Regions from separate parts of the Homo sapiens genome. Here all the other regions are linked to region 1. The links are contacts of gene promoters, found by promoter capture Hi-C in human tissues and cell types (Jung and others, 2019). All regions are on one chromosome and are shown on one strand. The core of a region is centred on a gene start or on the middle of the fragment in contact, and the rest is flanking DNA. Distances in the headings are between cores, read along the strand shown.

Evidence for each region. Contacts are between HindIII fragments. The study calls those that stand out against the background at their distance.
Region 2: a fragment that was not itself captured here is called in contact with the fragment with the promoter of FOXJ1 in region 1 in 2 of the 25 tissues and cell types used here (dorsolateral prefrontal cortex and heart right ventricle).
Region 3: a contact is called between a fragment that was not itself captured here and the fragment with the promoter of FOXJ1 in region 1, in 1 of the 25 tissues and cell types used here (dorsolateral prefrontal cortex).

What each region holds. Positions count from the first base shown.
Region 1 is chr17:76,138,546-76,142,648 of GRCh38, forward strand. It overlaps FOXJ1 (forkhead box J1), which reads right to left and starts at 2,700. Exons shown (of 3, transcript NM_001454.4): 1 at 2,569-2,700; 2 at 1,353-2,019. The coding sequence starts at 1,850. It overlaps RNF157 (ring finger protein 157), which reads right to left. Exons shown (of 19, transcript NM_052916.3): 19 at 3,929-4,103. RNF157-AS1 (RNF157 antisense RNA 1) reads left to right here and starts at 2,011. Exons shown (of 8, transcript NR_040017.1): 1 at 2,011-2,135. RefSeq lists an enhancer at 467-1,126 and silencers at 1,538-1,727, 1,788-1,857, 2,536-2,695. The HindIII fragment of the contact is 16,722 bases long and covers 1-4,103 here.
Region 2 is chr17:76,426,764-76,430,846 of GRCh38, forward strand. All of the region lies in intron 1 of UBE2O (ubiquitin conjugating enzyme E2 O), which reads right to left. It also overlaps the pseudogene RPL7P49. Among named protein-coding and RNA genes, the nearest start is that of UBE2O, 24 kb to the right of the region's middle. The HindIII fragment of the contact is 3,437 bases long and covers 340-3,776 here.
Region 3 is chr17:76,573,790-76,577,967 of GRCh38, forward strand. It overlaps ST6GALNAC2 (ST6 N-acetylgalactosaminide alpha-2,6-sialyltransferase 2), which reads right to left. Exons shown (of 9, transcript NM_006456.3): 3 at 576-750. Among named protein-coding and RNA genes, the nearest start is that of ST6GALNAC2, 10 kb to the right of the region's middle. The HindIII fragment of the contact is 6,838 bases long and covers 1-4,178 here.

The DNA.
Region 1 (4,103 bases), core at 1,450-3,949:
GCTGGGCAGCCGAGAGTGGAGAGGAAGGGGGAGAGAGAGAGAGAGCGCGCAGGGATGAGAGGTGGGGGATCTGATGACTTTCCTTGTTTGTTGAGCCGGCTGCTGGCCTGGGCCTTCACCCCCCACGGCCCCCTCCCCCCACTCCAGGCTCAGTTGATTATTACCCAGCCAAGAGCTAAGAGCATAGCACTCATTCCTGGGGCCCGTTTCTCGAAGCGCAGCTGCACAGGCTTAGGGTAGGGTGGGGCTGAGGGTCTCTGCTTTTTCGGTGCAGCTGCAAATGACCCTGCTCTAGGGTCAGGGGCATTGGAAATGGCTTGGGACTGCGGTCCTGTGGCCTGCCCGCTTTGGGTGCTTCAGGGAAGAGTCTGGGCGTCCTTGGGGGGCCCCTGACTCCAACTAGCCCTTGATGGTGATGGCTGAAGACTCTTAGGGCACTGCCTACCCAGCCTCAAATCCACCATCCTCCTGCCTTGTCCATTCTTAGGTGCTTAATCTTGTCCAAAGCCTGCTGGGGGACAGGGGTCCTGGGCTGGGACGGCAGGGCAGGTGGGTGGATAATGCCCGGCAGCAAGGCTGGGATGTTTACATGGTGGCCTGGGCCCCTTGGCTGCTCAGTGCCTGGTTCCAGAGACGTGGAACACGAAGTGAGTGTGGTAGGCAGAGCCCCAGTGGAAGGCACCTGGCTCAGGTAATTGTCCCCCCAGGGAGGTTGGCTGACAGCGGGGGTTGGAGGCAGGAAACTGAGCAGAGGTTGAGGTGGGGGGCTGGGACAGCAGCTTTAGGAAGGCCCCTTACCCCCTCCACCCTCCATTGGGACACACCTGGCCCTCACATGCTAAGGCACCCCTTCCATTCCACCCTCCCCAAGCCAACTGCAAAAGGGCAGGACGTAGAGCCTGGCAGGGAGGCCACGTTCCAGTTTCCGTTTCTGACTCCCGGCCCCGACAAACCATCCCGGGGCAGGGCAGTGTCTAGGAATTCTAGGACTTGGGACAAGAATGCGCCTTCAGTTCATCGCTCTCCCCAAGGAGATTCTGTCCACGCAGAGTCTAGCCCTGGTCTTTGGCCTGGGCCTGCTGGATGAATGGCAGGTTATTTCCCCTTGAATCTCAGCCTCTGCACCCCTAAAGCCCTCCACCTCTGGACATTCTCCCTTCTCTCTCTCTCTCTCTCTGGAAGTCAAAGGAGGGGCAGTTGCAAGAACTGGGCTCCTTTGCAGGGCTCCCTTCTGGGGCGCTGGCCGCACCGCAGAGCCTACTTGGCCTGCAGATTTGGGATATGAATCCAGTGCAGCGTGGGGAGCGAGGAGGGAATGGGGAGGGAGCGGCCGCCGCCCGTGCCTCCTCTACCTGCCAGGTGGGATCTGCGTGGCGGAAGTAGCAGAAGTTGTCCGTGATCCACTTGTAGATGGCCGACAGGGTGATCTTGGTGGCCTTGCTGGCCTGCATGGCCATGCAGATGAGCGTGGCATACGAGTAGGGAGGCTTCACGTGCGGATTGGTGGCGTAGTCCACGTCGTCGGGGGGTGGGGCCTGCAGCCCCGGGGGCGCGCTCCGCGACGTGCACGACGACGTGGGCTTGCCCGGCGTGTGTGGCTGCCCCAGGCAGGCGGGGTCGGCCGCCAGGGGGGACCCGGGCGCCGCTGAACCTGGCACCTGGTGGTAGCCGTGGGGGTCGGTGCCCCCCGGGGGCAGGGCGGGGGCCTTGGCGTTGAGAATGGAGAATTCCTGCAGCCACTGCAGGCTGGTCAGGCTGTCATCCAGGGCGTCGGGCTCCTCCAGGCCGCCCTCCGGCCCGGCCTCCTCCGCCGGCCCGGCTCCCGAGAGGCGCAGCCAGCTCTCCGCCATGTCTGCGGGGACTCTCCGAGGGGGCGGTCAGCATCCACGGGCTGAGCCGGGGGTGGCCCGCCGCGCTCTCTGGCCCGCTGAGTCCCGCAGCTCCCGTTACACGGCCTCCCGGACGCGCGCTTCCATCTCGCGACCCCGGGGGCGCCTCCTCCGAATAAGTATGTGGTGCCTGCGAGGACCACGGTGGGAGCTGAGCACTACCCCACCCCCGAGGGGACAGTGTGTGTACGGGGACGCCCTCTCTAACATCATCCCCGCAGCTGGGGAGGATCTTTTAGTGCCGAGGTATGGGAAACAGAAGCAAGGCCCTGGGGTCCCACCCCCATCAGATCTGCCTCCCTCTTCCTTTCCTCTTCGAGGTTTTATTAGCCAAATGAAGAGGGTAGGGGCATCCGAGGCTATCCTTTTCTCCCGAAGAGCAGGAAATCAGGACCCCCTTCCTCCTCGCAACAAATGGAAGTGGGGCGAGAAGTTTGGGAGGGCGGTACGACGGGGCGGGGGCGGTGGAGGTCCTCTGATCCTTGAAAAGGAATATTATGATAGGGGATCATTGGGAAGGAAGGGGACGGAACAGTAACGGGGGGCAGGAGGCGAGTTTCCCCCAGACTTCTCCGATGTCAGTCCCTGGGCCCACCACTTCCGTTAAGGACGAATGAGAGAGCGGGTTGGTACCGTTGCCCACCCTTCCCCCTGGCCTGCAGCCCTCCCCATCCCTTACCTGGCTCAGAGCGCAGCCCGGGCCAGAGGAAGGTTCTGGAAGAAGTTGCTCCCACCCCCTGCGGCTCTCTGCCCCCAGCTCGGGGGCCCTGCCAGCGCCTCTTGCCGCCCCCCCGCCCGACGGCGCTTCTCTGAGCTACCGCGGCCCCGGGACCGGCATTAAGTAGCCGCTCCAAAGGCTTCTCCTGCTGCCATGGCGACGCTCCGCCCCCATAAACAGCTTCCGCCTCTGCCATTGGCCAGCACGTCTCCAAGGAGACCGCGGGCACTTGCCACTCTCCCTGGCGGCAACTCTCTTCGAACTCCCTCCTTCTGCCGCCCTCTCCCGCGCCACCCAACCCCCTACCCGCCGCTAAGTCCCGGCTCGGCTCATTCCCGCCCGAGGGCCCCGCGCTGGGGTCGGAGAAGCGCGCGGCCTGCGGCACCGGGAACCGCTATGGATCCGTTCGTTCTGGGGAACCAAGACTCTCGCCCCCACCCCCTTCCTGTCCCGTACGCTTTGAGGCGTCGACTGCTCCTGGGACGGAGCCTGGGGTTGGGGGGCTAAGGCTGGGAGCGGGCTCAGGCTCGGGAACCGTATCCTTGAGGTTTTCTTTCCTCTCCGCTACGAGTGGCACTTTCTCATGTTTCTGCAGCCTTTCCCTCTCCCCCGACTCTTAGGGTCTTTCTCTGGTGTCCCAGGCAGGTCTGACTTTCCGATGCCACCTGCCGCTTACATCCACAGAGGCGGCAGACACACCAAGGGGGTAGGGTAATCCAGTGTGTCCCAGTAAGCAGCTCCTTCCCCACCCGTATCCTCGAGGTTCCAGGAAGCTGACATTCCAGAGGCTTCTGCAGAAGCGCACTCACTCCTCTGGAGACAGCTGATGAAGCAGAGCCCGTGGGTAAAACTCTGAAGTCATGGACTTGTCAAATTCTCCTAGCGGGGTCATTTGCCCAATTAATTTCACCAACCTTTAAGTCACAGGGATTAAGAGTAGAGGGACTCTGGGGACTGTGTCCCTTCCTCCTCCCTTCCCCTGGCCTCCCTCCTGTCACCAGCTTTCCTGCTCTTTAATTATTGAGGAGCTGCAGGGTTGGACGTTCTCCGGTTTAAGGCGGCTGCAGAGGCAGTGGTGGGGGCTGGGTTGATTACCCCGCCTCTGCCCAGGAGCTGGAGAGCCGGGGTCGGGGAGGCTGGTGCCCAGACCATGAAGAAGGCCCGGCTATGGCGCATCACTCCCCCGCCAACATGCCTTTCCCTAGCCCTTGCCTCTCCCACTCCTCCAACTCCAGATCCTCTTGAGTAAAAGTATTAAAGAGTGCTGGCGAAAGTCAGACAGAAACTTTCACAGATAAGCTCACTTTGCAGTTAGCTCTCCTTCCCTTGTAAACAGTTTTATTCATTTTTAAGAATCATGCAGCAATCCATAAATATTGCATTCTTGATGTCCCCACTGTAGTGTGACCACAAGTGTACTCCAGGGAGAGGGGTACACAGATGGCACAAGCAGTATACACATGCACACACCAGGTGTGCAGACCAAAGCAAAGTGA
Region 2 (4,083 bases), core at 808-3,307, 290 kb after region 1:
AAATTAGTGACGATCACTTTCAGAAGCGAATGCTTATTCAGATTTACCTGCACTTCCCAACGCCTCTGGATACCATTACTGTCCGCATTTCTCCTTTCTCCTTACTTCCTTCTTCCCGAAGTACAGCGAAGGTCTCTTAGTAAATACAACTTTTTTTTTTTTCTGTGAAAATGTCCTTATTTGTTCCCATTATTGAACGATAATTTAAGCTGGTTGCTGAAAACTAAGCCAACAACTGATTTTCCTTAGCACACTGAAGATTTTACTTCCTTATGGCCTCTACTGTTGCTACTTGGCATTTCCTGAGTTTCACTGTTGAACCTGGGGAGTAATCTGCCTTTCTTCTCAAGCTGCCTTTAGGATGCTATTTTTCCCACTGGGCCCTCATACCACCATCCATGTTTGTAATGTCTCTTCCTCACAAGCATCTCTTTTATCTCTGCAGAATTCTAACTAACTTCTGCAGATCTGTTTTCCAGTTCCCATAGTTCTCTCTTGAGAATTTATGCTATTTGCTGTTTAACATTTCCACTGGGGTTTTAACTCAATGTTTTCACTCTAGAGGCTTTATTTGATTCTTTAAAAAATAATCCCTTTTAAGATGTATTCTGTCTTATTCTTTCCTTTGACATCTATTTCTTCTTTTAGCCCTTCAATCACTTTAGACATTTCTATTATAATCTCTTCTATTATTTGAATTCTCATGTTGAGAATCTTGTGTTTGTTGTGATCGCTGACTCATGTTCTAATTTCTACATGCTTGGTAATTTCCTAGAACAAGCTCATCATCTGTGGGCATCCTAGGATTCCAAAAGGCCTGTACTGTGCAAGGGTCACTCTAGAAAAGTTCTGCCTTTGTTCTGCAAGCAAGAAGCTTCAGGGGTATCGCCAGTCTGCTGGCTGGTCTGGTGCCAGCTCGGGCATTCCTGCAACATGTAGATGTTATAAACACAGACTTAGAACTTGGATGTTTTCCACTGTTCACAGAAGACTTCCTCCAACACAATCCAGAGTGTGGGGCAATGATCAGCTCCCTTGACATTTCTCTGATCCCATGGGGGAAATTTTCTTGCATCCCTTTTACCTGGGAATGGCTCTTTTGAGGGGATTTCTGTTTCAACTCCATGCTTCACGTGTTCATGCAAATCCAAACCTCTATTATTGTTAGGGTCGATTTCAGGGTCCAATGAACCCACCTTGCCCCTCCCCAGAGCTGCCTACTCTGCTCTGGCTTTATATTCCTGCTTTGCTTTCGGTTCTCTGTTTTTCTTTCTTATTCTGTTGTTATAGCTTATATAGCATTTTAAGTGATTGTAATGGGAGCGGTTCTAACTTTAGCTCAAGCTACCATGTCACTGAAACAGGAAATCCACCCCATTGTCTTCTGGCTTCCAATGAGGTTGAAAAATCCAATCCATCTTCATTCCCAGTCTTTTGTATGTGACCCGTTTTTGCTCTTCGGAAGCTTTATGCCCAGTGCTCTGGAATCACACAATGTGCCACAGGACATTTTCCATTTACCATTTTTGAAACTTATGACTGTCCATTCTGAAATAATTCTTGTTTCTCTGATACATTATGGTCCTTAATTTTCCCTTTCTCTCTTTATAGACTTCCTAGATGTCAGACGTTTTTAATCTGTTTCCTGGGAGCCTTCGTCAACTTCAAAGAAAAAGTAATGGTTTTAATTTCCGAGAACTCTTTCTTGTTCTGATTTTTATAGTAACTTTTTATTTCATGGATAAAATATTGGCTCTTCTTTCTGAGTATATTTGCCATGTGCTTTAAGGCTTTCTCCTACCTGAATCAGCTCTGATTCCTCGGAGATACATTTTTCTCTTTGCTTTCTCTGGCCTCTACCTTCCATACTGGAAGCTTTCTGAACATATCCAGTTATTCTTGGCATCCATTCCTATTTAAAAGTGAGGCAATAAGAGATCTTTGTGGTGATGGAAGAGTTGTGTATCTTGACTGCTGTTACATGTGGTTACATGAATCCACAGATGTGATAAAGGGTGTGAAACTGTATGCACATATTGTGTACCCATGTCAATTCCCTGATTTTCATATTGTCTGTGATTATATAAGACATGACCATCAAGGGAAACTGCATGAAGGGTAGAGGGGACCCCTCTACTATTTTTTTTTTTTTTTTTGAGATGGAGTCTTGCTCTGTCGCCCAGGCTGGAGTGCAGTGGCATGATCTTGGTTCACTGCAACCTCTGCCTCCTGGGTTCAAGCAATTCTCCTGCCTCAGCCTCCCGAGTAGCTGGGATTACGGGCGCATGCCACCATGCCCGGCTAATTTTTGTATTTTTAGTAGAGACGGGGTTTAACCATGTTGGCCAGGCTGGTCTCGAACTCCTGACCTCGTGATCTGCCCGCCTCGGCCTCCCAAAGTGCTGGGATTACAGGCATGAGCCACCGCGTCCAGCCAGCCCTCTACTATGTTTGCAACTTCCTATGCATCTATAATTATTTCAAAATAAAAAGTTGGGCTGGGGATGGTGGCTCATGCCTGTGATCCCAGCACTTTGTGAGGCTGAGGTGGGCAGATCACTTGAGCTCAGGAGTTTGAAACCTGCCTAGGCAACATGGCAAAACCCCATCTTGACAAAAAACACACAAATTAGCCAGGAGTGGTGGCGCATGGCTGTAATCCCAGCTACTTGGGAGGCTGAGGTGGGAGAAGTGCTTCAGCCTGGGAGGCAGAGGTTGCAGTGAGCCAAGATTACACCACTGTACTCCAGCCTGGGTGACAGAGTGAGACTCTGTCTCAAAAAAAAAAAAAAAAAAAAAAAGTTAAAAAAGTTGAGGTGATAAAAAGATGATAGAAACCCTGTGAACATAAGCAAGGCTCTGGACAGGTGAGGACCACATTAGATGGAGTAGAAAGCTGGCCACTGCTGTGAGGAGCCACTACATACTGGCAATGGCAGGTCTTGTTGCTGACATGCTCATTTTTTCCAGACTGGAATCCAATGCCATGCCTCATGCCTGGCCTCAGCACTCCAGGAGCAGGCAGGGGCATGGCTGGGATTTGCTCTTTTAGTGTGCAGACGTTCATGAATCCCTCTTTCAGTCCAGCGTTACCCTGCCCCTTGCTCTGCCCAAGGTACCTCAATCTGGTGCATAAGCCTCTGCTCTCTCACTCGCCAGCAAAGGGGATTGAGTATTTTCTGGTTTGCAGAATTCAAAGAGATGACTTGGGAAGTTTCATCCCTCCCTATACAGACTGTCAACTAATCATAATCCCTCTGCTTTTAGGCCCAAACCTTATTCCCACCTTGAGTGCCACCAATTGCCTCCAATTCCTGATGCTTTCTAAAGTGCTTTTCCTTGGTGTTTTTCCGCAGGTACCAACATTTCAGCCTCTGCTCTGCTCAGTCTTCTGTTTGCCTTCCACCTTCTAGAAATTGGAGATCTTTTGTTATTGTTTTCTCTCCCATTCTGTGTCCTTGTGGGTTTATACATCTAAAAACAATTATTTTGCTGTTATTTTAGCAGAGTTTCTAGGGGAAGTAGATTTAAATGAATATGTTCAATCTACCATGTTTACCTAAAGTATGCTAACCGAAGATTTTTTTTTTCAATTTGAGAGCAGGTACTATTTATTAACTGACCAGATTAGAAAAATAATCACGGTAGACACCGCAGTTCATTCTTCTAAGAAGCCTGTGGATCTGGCCCTCCCTGTTGGCAGCAGCTCCATTTTCTACAAAATGGGTGGTCTTTTTCTTCATTCCACTTTGTGGAGAGGATAACTTGAAGGGCCACAGTATAGAGCTCATGAATCAGATCCTCGATGCAGATGATGCCATATTGACCATGAGACTGATCAATCAAAGTGTTATCTGTCAAAGCAATTCGCTTCTTATTGATTTTGCCACGGCCATGCTTGTAGATGAGTTTATTTACTGATTTCAGATTTGGGTTCCCCTTGTAATACATGGTTTCACAATCCTCAGCATGTTAACTGAAGGTCTGCTGAACTTCACAAAGGTTCCATTAAAGATCTGACAAAGGCAAAGAAGCTGCAACATCTTTTGGCCCTTTGGGCTCACACCACTGATACCTCTGACC
Region 3 (4,178 bases), core at 155-2,654, 430 kb after region 1:
TGGTGGTGCGTGCCTAATCCCAGCTACTTGGGAGGCTGAGGCACAAGAATCACTTGAACCCGGGAGGCGGAGGTTGTAGTGAGCTGAGATTGTGCCATTGCACTCCAGCCTGAGTGACAGAGCGAGACTCCATCTCAAAAATAAAAAAGACTGTATATTGCAAAAGAAAAGAATCGGAGGCCTGTGGGGGTTTGGGTGCAGGTATAATGTAGAGGGGGCTCTGGGCCTGCAGTGTGGGGGTTCCTGCAGCAGCAACCGTGAGTGAGGTGGTTTGAGGCCCCACAGCCTCTGTCCTTGGCCACCATTGGACGCTGCAGCCTTTCTTGCCAGGGAGGCCCCAGGATGGTGAGGCCCACTGGCGGGGGCAGCCCCATGACTCTCACTGACCCCTGGGTGCTTGGACGGAGGAGGGAGGTGAGGCAGGAGTTGCATAGCTGGGGCTTCTGGGAGGAGAGAGGGGGACAGGGAGACCTGGCATCACCAGTGCTATGAGGGCAGAGAGGCCTGGCCTACTTCAGGGCAAAGAGCAGGAAGCTAAGGCAGAAGGCAGGTGAGAGACAGCGGGCGCGGGTTACCTTGGTGAGAGAGCCCCCGCCAGCCATACGGGGCTTTGTGTTGGCTCAGGCGGTCCCAGAGCGCTGGGGTGAAGAGGTCCCCCCACAGCAGCACTGGAATGGAGAGATTGAACAGGCCACGGAAGTGGGGGTGCCGCTGAATGGCCAGGTGAAGCAGGTGTCGGCAGGCCTGGCCCTGTGGGTGAGAAGGTGAGGGCTGAGCCCCGTTAGGTAGGGGCTGGGGTGGGTGGGGCCCTGCAGACCCTGCAGGGGAGTTGCGAGTTGTGAGGGAAGGCCTGCCCTGTCCCCTCCAGATTGGGGCCATCCTTGCATTTTTTTTTTTCTTTTTTTGAGACAGAGTCTCGCTCTGTCGCCCAGGCTGGAGTGCAGTGGCCCCATCTCGGCTCACTGCAAGCTCCGTCTCCCGGGTTCACGCCATTCTCCTGCCTCAGCCTGCCGAGTAGCTGGGTCTACAGGCGCCCGCCACCACGCCCGGCTAATTTTTTGTATTTTTAGTAGAGACGGGGTTTCACCATGTTAGCCAGGGTGGTCTTGATCTCCTGACCTCGTGATCCACCCGCCTCGGCCTCCCAAAGTGCTGGGATTACAGGCGTGAGCCACCGCGCCTGGCCCATCCTTGCATTTTTGAACTGAGCTGGCAGCTAGGGGGTCTGGGAACTTTCTGGATTTAGCCTGCCTAGCTCTTCCTCTCCCAGAGGCCATGTCCCCTTGGCCTGGTGGTTCTGGCCTCACACTCCTTCATCTCACGCTTGAGCAAACTCTGGGGCATTTTCTGATGTATGGGTCTGACCTGCCTGCCCTTTGGTGGAGTAGTTTCAGCCTGGGCTGAGCTGAGGCTGTCACCCTGGATGCAAAACCCTAACCCTACTGGTACTCGCTGTATAATTTGTGTGTGAACAGGCTGCCAGGAAGATCCGTGATAGTCTTTCTTTCCAGTGGTGCCTTTAGGGAGTGGAAGTGTCCCCCCAAAATTCATTACCCAGAGCCTTGGAATGTGACCTTAGTTGGAACTAGGGTCTTTGGAGATGGAATTAGTTAGGAGGAGGTCATATAGGGTGAGGTCAGGCCCTAACTAGCATCCGTGGAAAGAGGCCGGGTGATGATGAAGCAGGGATCTGTGCGATGCACCATAAGCCAAAGAGCAGTGGAGCCGCCAGAGCTGGGAAAAGGCAGGGGAGGCTTTCTTCGAGCCTTCGGAGGGAGCGTGGCCCTGCCAGCACCTTGATTCTGGGCTTCTGGGCTCCAGAACTGTGACGATTCAATTTCTGTGGATCGAAGCCCCCCAGGCTGTGATCATTTGTTCCAGCAGCCACGGGGAAGGAACACAGCACCTCTGTACTTGTGGGCCTTGAGGGAGGGTGAGGTCAGGAAACAGGCCCCAGCCTTGTCTGCCCGTGACCCCACAAGTTCAGAATCACACACAGTCATGGCCTGGGTGGGCCTTCTATTACTCCTGAATGGGGCTCTTTGTTAAGCCATTCGTTTGATCAAAAGACAAAGCAGGAAATAGCTGTACAGTAATTTCTGCTATAATGCAACTTATGAGTGGCTAAATATCACCATGCTATGCAAAGCTATGCAATCATGATCATGGGGTAGCTGGGCATGGGGGCTCACCCCTCTAATGCCAGCGCTTTGGGAGGTCAAGGCGGGAGGATAACTTGAGGCCAGGAGTTTCCAGATTAGCTTGGTCAACATAACAAGACCCCATGTCTGCAAAAAAATGTTTTTTCATTAGCCAGGCATGGTGGCCCAGACCTATGGTCCCAGCTACTTGGGAAGCTGAGGTGGGAGGATTGCTTGAACCTGGGAGATTGAGGCTGCAGTGAGCTACTGAGACTGCACTGCAGCCTGGGCAACAGAGTGAGACCCCATCTCAAAAACAAAACAAAACAACAATAGCAAAACGAAAAACCACGGGCCTATGAGAACATGGGATGAGTGACATAACACTGAAACGCTGTCAGGAATGCGTAAAACCAAAGATACAAATCGAAGAAAGACAGAAGCACAGTTTTACTGATGTCCCGTGGTTAAAGAATACTTGAGATTGATGTGGAAGTGGGTGTGGAAGTGGGTGTCGGAAGGGGGCAGTTTGTGTGATATTGTGAAATGGTGGAAAGAAGTTGTCTGAAATCGGAGGGAATTGTGCCACCAGACTCACTAGGGCAGGTGAACCCATAACACACTCGGTGAAGCTGATGGAGATTTCAGGTGTGCATGTGTGTACTTTTTGTGTATTCCTACATGGCTCTGCTGAGTTGGGTGTGGTTTCTATGTTAACCTAGAGTTTTCACTGACAAAACCACTCAAAAAAAAATCCAGGCCGGGCACGGTGGCTCATGCCTATAATCCCAGCACTTTGGGAAGCAGAGGTGGGTGGATCACCTAAGTTCAGGGGTTTGAGACCAGCCTGAGCAACGTGGTGAAACCCTGTCTGTACTAAAAATACAAAATTAGCCTGGTGTGGTGGCACATCCCTGTAATTCCAGCTACTTGGGGGGCTGAGGCACAAGAATTGCTTGAACGTGGGAGGCGGAGGTTGCAGTGAGCCAAGATGGCGCCATTGCACTCCAGCCTGGGCAACAAGAGCGAAACTCCATCTCAAAAAAAAAAAAAAATGCAAAATGTATGTGATGCTCAGATTGTTTCCTAATATGTCAATCTTGTTGGAACAAATTAACAAATTCTTTTTTTTCTTTTTTTTTTTTTTTTTTTTGAGACGGAGTTTCGCTCTTGTTGCCCAGGCTGGAGTACAATGGCATGATCTCAGCTAACTGCAACCTCCACCTCCCAGGTTCAAGTGATTCTCCTGCCTTAGCCTCCCAAGTAGCTGGGATTACAGGCGCCTGCCACCATGCCTGGCTAATTTTTTGTATTTTTTGTAGAGACAGGGTTTCACCATGTTGACCAGGCTGGTCTTGAACTCCTGATCTCAGGTGATCCACCCACCTCGGCCTCCCAAAAGTGCTGGGATTACAGGCATGAGCCACTGCGCCTGGCCGTTTTTGTCTTCTTATATGTGTCCAAAAGCCACCTCAGACCCTTTGGTTTAGACCAGGTGGGGACATACGTCAGTTAGCAATGAACAGCTCAAGGCTCAAGGTGGAAAAGAGTTTAGGAAGCTTGAAGATGACCTGGTCCAAGCACTCCTAAGGTGCTCAAGGCCTCTCTTCAGCCTGCCGGCCAAGTGCCCATTGGCCTCTGTATTTTTTTTTTTTTTTTTTTTGAGACGGAGTTTCGCTCTGTCACTCACGGTGGAGTGCAGTGGCACGATCTCAGCTCACTGCAACCTCCGTCTCCTGGGTTCAAGCAATTCTGCCTCAGTCTCCCAAGTAGCTGGGATTACAGGAGCCCGCCACCATGCCTGCCTAATTTTTTGTATTTTAGTAGAGATGGGGTTTCACTGTGTTGCCCAGGCTGGTCTCGAACTCCTGAACTCAGGCAATCTGCCCACCTCGGCCCCCCAAAGTGCTGGGATTACAGGTGTGAGCCACCACGTCCAGCGGCCTCTGTTCCTAAGACAGGGCCCCCATCACCTGCCCGGGCTACTTGCTGTGTCTCTGAACAGCTTGGCTGTCGCTAAGCTCTAGCATGCAGTGA